Regions from separate parts of the Homo sapiens genome. Here region 2 is linked to region 1. The links are contacts of gene promoters, found by promoter capture Hi-C in blood cells and fetal thymus (Javierre and others, 2016). All regions are on one chromosome and are shown on one strand. Each heading gives the region's core, a stretch centred on a gene start or on the middle of the fragment in contact. The rest is flanking DNA. Distances are from core to core; before and after follow the strand shown.

The links. Contacts are between HindIII fragments. The CHiCAGO score rates a contact against its expected background, and 5 or more counts as called.
Region 2: a contact is called between a fragment that was not itself captured here and the fragment with the promoter of SCNN1A in region 1, in 1 of 17 cell types (neutrophils). The highest score is 5.3, in neutrophils.

The regions. Positions count from the first base shown.
Region 1 is chr12:6,373,756-6,378,046 of GRCh38, reverse strand. It overlaps SCNN1A (sodium channel epithelial 1 subunit alpha), which reads left to right and starts at 2,484. Exons shown (of 13, transcript NM_001038.6): 1 at 2,484-2,542; 2 at 3,210-3,679. The coding sequence starts at 3,264. It also overlaps a transcript of LTBR not described here. RefSeq lists enhancers at 1,052-1,656, 3,473-4,077. The HindIII fragment of the contact is 18,398 bases long and covers 1-4,291 here.
Region 2 is chr12:6,498,880-6,503,769 of GRCh38, reverse strand. All of the region lies in intron 2 of NCAPD2 (non-SMC condensin I complex subunit D2), which reads right to left. Among named protein-coding and RNA genes, the nearest start is that of NCAPD2, 7.2 kb to the right of the region's middle. The HindIII fragment of the contact is 435 bases long and covers 3,073-3,507 here.

The DNA.
Region 1 (4,291 bases), core at 1,235-3,734:
ATTTGTACACTTTAAAAGATCATCTTTAAAATGGACTTCTGACCAAAGTCCAGGTCTCAGATTTCTATTTTCCTCACAACACCAAGCCTGTTCTAGCCCGCTCCAGGTCTAGAATGCTGCAGCACTAGGCTCGCATTGCCACTCCCATACCCGGCAGGACGTGGCAGGGTCACCACCCTTTGGCTCAGCCCAGACCAGGCATTGCAATTCTTCTCACAGAGCCCTTGATATGAAAACTATTTGCCATGCTGCCTTAAGCTAGTGGTTGGATTTCAGGCATGAGCTGGCAAATAGAAAAGGCAGGGAGGTGCTTTTCAGAACCTTTGAGATCAAACAGCCAGGGTGCTGAGCACCTTATTGCAGGGAGGACCATGCCCAATGTAAGGACCTGGCTCAAGGGAGACTGGAGTTTCTAGGGGTCTCTGGGATATGTGGGGCAGTGGGGACAGTGCAGAGACCTTTTCACAGAGCCAAGGAGATAACCCAGCACCCAGAGAGCAGACGAATCCACGGGCTCTGTGTGGGAGTGAGGGAGGCCTTCCCGGCTTTCACATCCAGGTGCACCTGAGCCCCGATCCCCCATGAGTCTGTCTCAGGAAGTAAATGGCAAAAGCGCTAAGTAGATAGCCCCAGAGGAGGAGGAGAATTCTGAATTCTGTTTATAGCTCTGCTCCTATTTTGTTTTCTAACCTCAGAAAACTGATTTATCCTTGGGAAGGGTCAGTTTCTTCATTAGGACAATGAAGAAAAATCCAGCTGTCCCTTCCAAGGGGAGGTATCATGAGCAGTATCAAGGTAAGCAAGGGAACCTGGTTTGGAATCCTGGTTGACACCGGCTTTCACTTTAAGAAGTCGCAAGAGACTGCCGCAAGAGAGGAAGCCACAGACCAGGTTGGACCCTGAGCCTGGAGTACTGCCTTTTCTCTTCTTTGCCTGCTAAACTCCTTGCTTGTCAAGATTCAGCAGAGATGACACCTTCTCTGGGAAGGCTTCCTGAGTCTCCTGCAGTGAGCCCCTAGGCTCCCCTAGCCCTTGGCTCTTATGTCTTATCTCTGAGAAATCTGAGATCTGCACTTTTGTTAGAAGTCCGTTTTAAAGACAATCTTTTAAAGTGTACAAATAGAAACCTTATCTTATTGTATTGCAGGCCTATCTCCTCCCCCGGTGTGTATCAATGCTCAGGCTGGGCCTTTGTCTGCTGGCTTGTGGAGGGAGGCAGGACAAGCCAGTGACCACATTCCTGCACTCTGGGCTGCCTCCTGTGGGGCCCGTGAGGAAGCGGCAGCCTTCCCTGCCGCGTGCAGGGCCTGGGTTGTGTGGGTGGCTCTCCCGAGTCTCCTCCAGCCCTTTTTGGGTCTGATTCTCTGACCCTCCTCTCTCTCCTTGCTCACCACTTGGCACTCCACTCCTTATCCTTTTGCTGCATTAAGTTTGGAAAGAGATTTTGGAGAAAATATAGCCCATCAACGAATTTCTCCTCCTCCCAGGGCCTGTCTAGGCGTGTGCCATGCCCACCCTCTTCCTTTCCAGCGCTGGCCACATCCTCCCTGCACCTTCAGTGCCTGCTTTCCCTGCCTCTTCCTGGGCTCCGGGTCTGTGTCCACAGTGTCCTGCGTGGCCCTCGCGCTGCCTCTGGTTGCCCACATTCCTGCAACTCTGTGACCACAGCAGGGGCGATTACACATTCCTGGCCTGGCAGCCAACAGTGTAAAAAAGAACAGAATGTCCTAGGGCCCCGCCTAGCCCCCAGCTTCACCTGGGCCCCTCCCGGGTCTGGACAAGGTTGGAGGGGGTGGCGAGGAATCAGCAGGAAAGAGGAGGGACCAGGAGGAGGCAGACGCATCCCACCTGAGTGCGCTGCTCCCACTTAGTGAGCGGGGAGGAGACCTGCAGAGACCTCTTCTCTCTTCTCTGCAGGGCCTGAGGGTGAGGCTGACCTGTGGGTGCCCTTGGAGGGCTGCCCACTTGCTGAGCCTCTAGCTCCTGGAAGCACACTTGGGACTCCCCCCTTGCTCTCCTTCCTGGAGACAGACTCCCTTTGGTGCTGGCTCCTTCTATTTGCCCCCACCACTGCCCCCCACCTGCCTCTACTCACTCAGTGCCCCTCCTCCATCCCTATCTCTCTGTCCTTCGCTGTCCCTCTCTATTGTCTCCCTCTTTCTGCCCTCCTGTCCTCCCGGTTCCCCACCCAGGCCCTCTCAGCCTGGCTGGCCCCTTCTCCTTGTGTTGCCCTCCTAGCTGTGGGCTCAGGATCCTTCTACTTGTTCAGATCTTTGCCCCTCACCTGCCATCCTGTCCCCCAGCCTCCTTGCCTGTCTGCGTCTAAAGCCCCTGCCCAGAGTCCGCCTTCTCAGGTCCAGTACTCCCAGTTCACCTGCCCTCGGGAGCCCTCCTTCCTTCGGAAAACTCCCGGCTCTGACTCCTCCTCAGCCCCTCCCCCCGCCCTGCTCACCTTTAATTGAGATGCTAATGAGATTCCTGTCGCTTCCATCCCTGGCCGGCCAGCGGGCGGGCTCCCCAGCCAGGCCGCTGCACCTGTCAGGTGAGGGGGAGGAGAGGTTTGGCTGCCAGATTCAACTGGAAAGGAACCAGTCCCAGTCCAGCCGCAACCTGGGAGTGGGAAGCTGGAGGCAGCCCAGACCTCCTGGAGCCCTGCAGTCCTGGGGCAGAGACAGAATCAGGACACAGCTCGAGGTCAGGGCCAGAGGCTGGAGCTGAGGGCCTAGAGTGAGAGGGGGCAAGGCAAGGGGGGGAGAGGAAGAGAGGCAGGATTAGAGAGAGGAGGCAGGCCAGAAAGAGGAGAGCAGGAGAGACCCAAAGAGAAACAGAAGGCAGATAGAGAGGGAGTGAGAGGCAGGAGCTGAGACACAGATCCTGGAGGAAGAAGACCAAAGGAAGGGGGCAGAGACAGAAAGGGAGGTGCTAGGACAAAACTCGAAAGGTGGCCCTATCAGGGAAGCAGAGGAGAGGCCGTTCTAGGGAAGCCCAGCTCCGGCACTTTTGGCCCCAACTCCCGCAGGTCTGCTGGCTCCAGGAAAGGTGGAGGAGGGAGGGAGGAGTGGGAGAATGTGGGCGCAGGGTGGGACATGGGCATGGCCAGGGGCAGCCTCACTCGGGTTCCAGGGGTGATGGGAGAGGGCACTCAGGGCCCAGAGCTCAGCCTTGACCCTGACCCTTGCTCTCCCCAATCCACTCCGGGGCTCATGAAGGGGAACAAGCTGGAGGAGCAGGACCCTAGACCTCTGCAGCCCATACCAGGTCTCATGGAGGGGAACAAGCTGGAGGAGCAGGACTCTAGCCCTCCACAGTCCACTCCAGGGCTCATGAAGGGGAACAAGCGTGAGGAGCAGGGGCTGGGCCCCGAACCTGCGGCGCCCCAGCAGCCCACGGCGGAGGAGGAGGCCCTGATCGAGTTCCACCGCTCCTACCGAGAGCTCTTCGAGTTCTTCTGCAACAACACCACCATCCACGGCGCCATCCGCCTGGTGTGCTCCCAGCACAACCGCATGAAGACGGCCTTCTGGGCAGTGCTGTGGCTCTGCACCTTTGGCATGATGTACTGGCAATTCGGCCTGCTTTTCGGAGAGTACTTCAGCTACCCCGTCAGCCTCAACATCAACCTCAACTCGGACAAGCTCGTCTTCCCCGCAGTGACCATCTGCACCCTCAATCCCTACAGGTCGGTTAGTCCCTCTGCCCCTTCCCTGGTGCCTGCGCCTGGAAGGGTGGTCCAGGGTGCTGAGGTGCTCACTGGGCAGGCAGAGCCTCAGACCTGAGGGTGGGAACTGACACCCCTGTCCCAGGTAGAGCTCACTGCTGGCAAAATGAGGAGCCTCCAGCTTACTGGACTGGCGTCCCTGCCCAGTGGAGCCATCCTAGCACCCCAGGCTCACCCAGAGTGTGGTTGTTGGAGCAGCATTGCCCTCCCCTGCCCTCTCTTCTCCTTCCCTCCCATTCCCTTCTCCCTCCTGCAAGTGGGAGGGAGTGCTTGCAAAAGGGCAGGGGTGTGCTCAGCTGCATCCCTTTTCTGGAGCAAGATGCCAGCAAAGTATAAGACCTCGTCCACCTCAGCAGGAGAGTCTGATGGAGGGGTGAGGCTAGGTGAGGGGAGGCGAGACCGTGCAGGTGCTGTGGAGGTGGTGCTGTCAGTCTTTGTTTAGAAGGGGAATTTATTATGGAGAAAGCAAAGAGGGGGATCGTGGAGGTTAGGGCTGCAAGTGAGCCCAAAGGCTGGGGGCAGGGGCCTTACAGAACAAGGAGAATGGGTCAGGCTAGAGAGCAGCTCCTTGTG
Region 2 (4,890 bases), core at 2,041-4,540, 120 kb before region 1:
AGATGGAGTCTCGCTCTGTCACCCAGGCTGAAGTGCAGTGGCACGATCTCGGCTCACTACAACCTCCGGCTCCCAGGTTCAAGTGATTCTCCCGCCTCAGCCTCCTGAGTAGCTGGGATTACAGGCACGCGTCACCACACCCGGCTAATTTTTTGTATTTTTAGTAGAGACGGGGTTTCACCATATTGGCCAGGCTGGTCTCGAACTCCTGACCTTGTGATCTGCCCGCCTCGGCCTCCCAAAGTGCTGGGATTACAGGTGTGAGCCACCGTGCCCAACCCCTCACCGATATATTCATACTATTATAAAAAGGGCTCTGGGGAGTGGGTTCACTTGTGCCCTTCTGCCTTCTGCCCTGTGACAATGCAGCAAGAAGGCCCTTGCCAGTTACTGGTGCATTGATTTGGGACTTCCCAGTCTCCAGAAAAAAATGTGAGCCAATAAATTTCTTTCATTATAAATATCCAGTCTCAGGCATTCAGTTATAACAGCATATTTTTCTCAGTCCATTTTCTATACATCGTATTTCCATTGTTGAGCTTGTATCACATATTCACTTCTCTGTCATGCTTTTTAAAATTTAGCATTACAGTAAGTGTATTAGAAACCTTTGTAGGCCAGACGTGGTGGCTCACGCCTGTAATCCCAACACTTTGTAGGCTGAGGCAGGTGGATCATCAGGTCAGGAGTTCGAGACCAGCCTGACCAACATGGTGAAACCCCGTCTCTAATAAAAATACAAAAAAAAAAAAAAAAAAAAAGCCAGGTGTGGTGGCATGCGCCTGTAATCCCAGCTGCTCAGGAGGCTGAGGCAGGAGAATCGCTTGAACTGAGGAGGTTGCAGTGAGCCGAGATAGTGCCACTGTATTCCAGCCTGGGTGACAGAGTGAGACTCCGTCTCAAAAAAAAAGCAACAACAACAACAACAACAAAAACACCTTTGTAAACAATTTTTTTTGAGACAGGGTTTGTTGTGTTGCGCAGGCCGAAGTGCAGTGCAGGATCATAGCTTACTGCAGCCTCAAACTTCTGGGTTCAAGCGATCCTCCTGCCCCAGCCTTCTGAGTAGCTGGGACTACAGGCAGTGCCACCACACTCGGCCTTATATCTATCTTAATTTACTATTCCCCTATTGTTAGATACTGTGATACTTGTAACTTATTCCACTAATTAACAACAACAACAACACATACTCCCCTGGCAAATCTAGGTTAAACCAACTTTCTGGTTACTCCATTCATGTGACCACACAAATAAAAATGGCCTGAGAAAAACACAGAAACAAGCTGACTAGTCTTACGTTAAACTCATGACTACTAACCTGAAGTGGGCATTCGTACTCCCAAGTCTATTCGTTTTCTTCTAGGCAATTATTTCACACCTATCCTCTGCTCATAACACCATGACCTTCTTCCCAAACTCACTCTCAGTTAAAGGCTTTCCCTTCCTATTGAGGAAACAGAAGCAGACAGAAGAGAACTTTCAACTGCCCCAAGCTCTATATTTACCTGCACTAGTTGCATCTATGCCCATACATACACTCTGCCTTTTTTTTTTGCTACTGTGGATAAACTGTCCATGTTCTGATAAAGCCATCTCCTCCCCGTGTACCAGATCACGTACTCTCTTACCTACTAAAGGCACTGCTCCAACAACTGTTCCCTCTTCCTTCTGCAGCATCAGCTTTTCCCTCTCTGATCATTCCTACTCAATATAGACACACATAATGCTGCCCATCTTAAAAGAAATACATTATGTAAATTCATCATCTCTAATCTCTGTCATTCCATTTTCTTAAAAACCTATTCCTAGCAGGCTTTTGCCCCCACCATCTCCTGAAACAGCTTTGTCAAGGTTACCAGTGACTATGACATCAATAAATCCAGTAGTTAATCTGCAGTTGACCTCTCTTTTGTTTTTGAAACACTCTCTTTATTTAGCGTCCATTTAGCTCCTTCATTCGCTTTCTGCCCCAATGACTGCTTCTTAATTTCTTCTACTGGTTCTTCTTCATCCTCCTAGCCTCTAAATGCTGGACTGTCTCAGGTCTTGGTCTTCAAACTGCTGCTCTTCTCCATCTACACTCACTGCAATCTCATGGCTTTAAGTGCTGTCTACACGCTGAGTATTAAATCCTAAATGTGTATCTTTAGCTGACAACCTCTCCCTTGAACTCTGCACTCACATAACCAACAATCTAAACCTCTCCCTCCCATATGCTACCCCATCTCAGTAAATGGCAACTTCATTCTTCTAGTTGCTCAAGTCAAAAAGCCTTGTAAGGCCGGGTGTGGTGGCCCACGCCTGTAATCCCAACATTTTGGGAGGCCGAGGCAGGCAGATCACTTGAGGCCAGAAGTTCAAGACCAGACTGGACAACACGGCAAAACCGCATCTCTACTAAAAATACAAAAATTAGCCAGGTGTCGTGACCCTGGGAGGCGGAGCTTGCAGTGAACCGAGATGGTGCCACTGCACTCCAGCCTGGGCGAGAGAGCGAGACTCTGCCTAAAAAAAAAAAAAAAAAAAAAAAAAAAAAAAATTAGCCAGGCGTGGTGGTGCACACCTGTAATCCTAGATACTCAGGTGGCTGAGGCATGAGAATTGCTTGAACCTGGGAGGCAGAGGTTGCAGCGAGCCAAGATCACGCCACTGCACGCCAACCTGGGTGACAGAGCCAACAGAGCAAGACTGTCAAAAAAAAAAAAAAAAAGCCTTGTAATCATTCTCATCTCAGATTCCTTTACTAACCCTATAATCCAATCCAATCCATCAGCATTCCTGTAAAAGCTCTACTTTGAAAATATATCCTGAGTCGTTTTATCACCACTTCCCCTGCTATCCCTCCAGTCCAATCTACTTGGTATTACTGTATTAGCCACTTAACTAGTATCCCTGCTTCTCTCCTTGCCTCTTATAGTCTCTGCTCAACACAGTCGCCAGTGAATCTTTTAAAATGTCAGACCATGTCACTCCCATGCTCAAAACCCAATGGCTTTCAAGTTCATTCACACTGAAGTTCAAGTTTTTGCCATGATCTACGAGGCTCTAGAGATCAGTGCTTCTCAAGCTTATAATTGCATCCAAATTGCCTGGGGGAATCTTCTTAAAATACAGATTTCCTGATTCAGCAGCTTTGACATCCTGGGCCTTGACATCCTGCATTTCTAATAAGCTCCCAGATCATGAGATCCTGATATTAACACTGCTGATCTGAGGACCACATTTTGAGGAGCAAGATTCTAGAATAATCTGTACCACTTCCTACCTAATCTCTTTTTCCTAGCTTAATGCACTCCAACTCTATTGGCATTTGCCCACCTCAAGGCCTTTGCATAGGCTTTTCTGTTTGCTTGGAATGCTCTTCCCTAACAATCTGCATAGTTTATTTCCTTACTTTCTTAAGGTCTCTGCTCAAACGTGACGTAACAGCAAGCCTTCTCTGATGATCCAACATGAAATGACAGGTCCTACTATCTTCTTCTTTATATTATTTATTTTTAAGCTTTGTATAATTAATTTTAGAGACTATGTTGCCCAAGCTGGTCTTGAACTCCTGGCCTTAACAATCCTGCTTCTGCCTCCCAAGTGGTTGGGATTACAGGGACAAGCCACCATTCCCAGTACACTTCTTTTTTTTTCTTTTTTGAAACAGGGTCTAGCTCTGTGGCCAGGTTGCAGTGCAGTGGCATGATCATGGCTCACTGCAGCCCCTGCCTCCTGGGCTCAAGCAATTCTCCCACCCCAGCCTCCCAAGTAGCTGGAACTACAGGTGTGCACCACCACGCCTGGCTAACTTTTTTGTAATTTTGGTAGAGATGGGGTTTCACCATGTTGGCCAGGCTGGTCTCAAACCCCTGAGCTTGAGCAATCCAACCACCTTGGCTTCCCAAAGTGCTAGGATTACAGGTGTGAGCCACTGCGCCTGGCCACACTGTCTTCTTTATTTTTCTCTTTGGCTCTTACAACCATCTTACACACAGTGGTCCTCACCAATCTGTGTTCTCACTTTCTGGGGTTTCAGTTACCCGTGGTCAATCTCAAGTCTGAAAATATTAAATGAAATATTCCAGAAATAGGCTGGGCACAGTAGCTCACGCCTATAATCCCAGAACTTTGGGAGGCCAAGTTGGGCAGATCACCTGAGGTCAGGAGTTCGAGACCAGCCTGGCCAACATGGTGAAACCCCAGCTCTACTAAAAAATACAAAAAAAATTAGCTGGATGTGGTGGTGGGCACCTGTAATTCCAGCCACTTGGGAGGCTGAAGCAGGAGAATTGCTTGAACCTGTGAGGTGGAGGGTGCAGTGAGCCGATACCTTGCCACTGCACTCCAACCTGGGCGACAGAGCAAAACTCCGTCTCCAGAACAACAAAAAAACCCCCCAAGAATTAGCCAGGCGTGGTGGCACTTACCTGTAGTCCCAGCTGCTTGGGAAACTGAGGCAGGAGAATTGCTTGAGCCCAGGAGGTGAAGGTTGCAGTGGGCTGAGATTGAGCCACTGCACTCCAGCCTGGTCAACAAAGCAAGACCCTTATCTTAAAAAAATAAAAAGAAAGAAAGAAAGAAATATTCCAGAGATACACAATTCATAAATTGTAGGTTGTGTGTCATTCTGAGTAGCATAAAATCTGGTGCTGCCCTGCCGCCTCCTGCCTGGGATGTGAACCATCCCTTTGTCCAACATATCCACACTGTATATGCAACCCTACTCACCCATTAGTAGCCACCTTGGTTATCAGATCAACTGTTGCAGGGCTTCTGTTCAAGGAACCTTTATTTTACTTAATAATGGCCCCAAAGTGCAAGGGTAGTGATGCTGGCATAGTTACAATTGCTCTATTTTATTAATATTATTGTTAAACAGGCCAGGCGCAGTGGCTCACACCT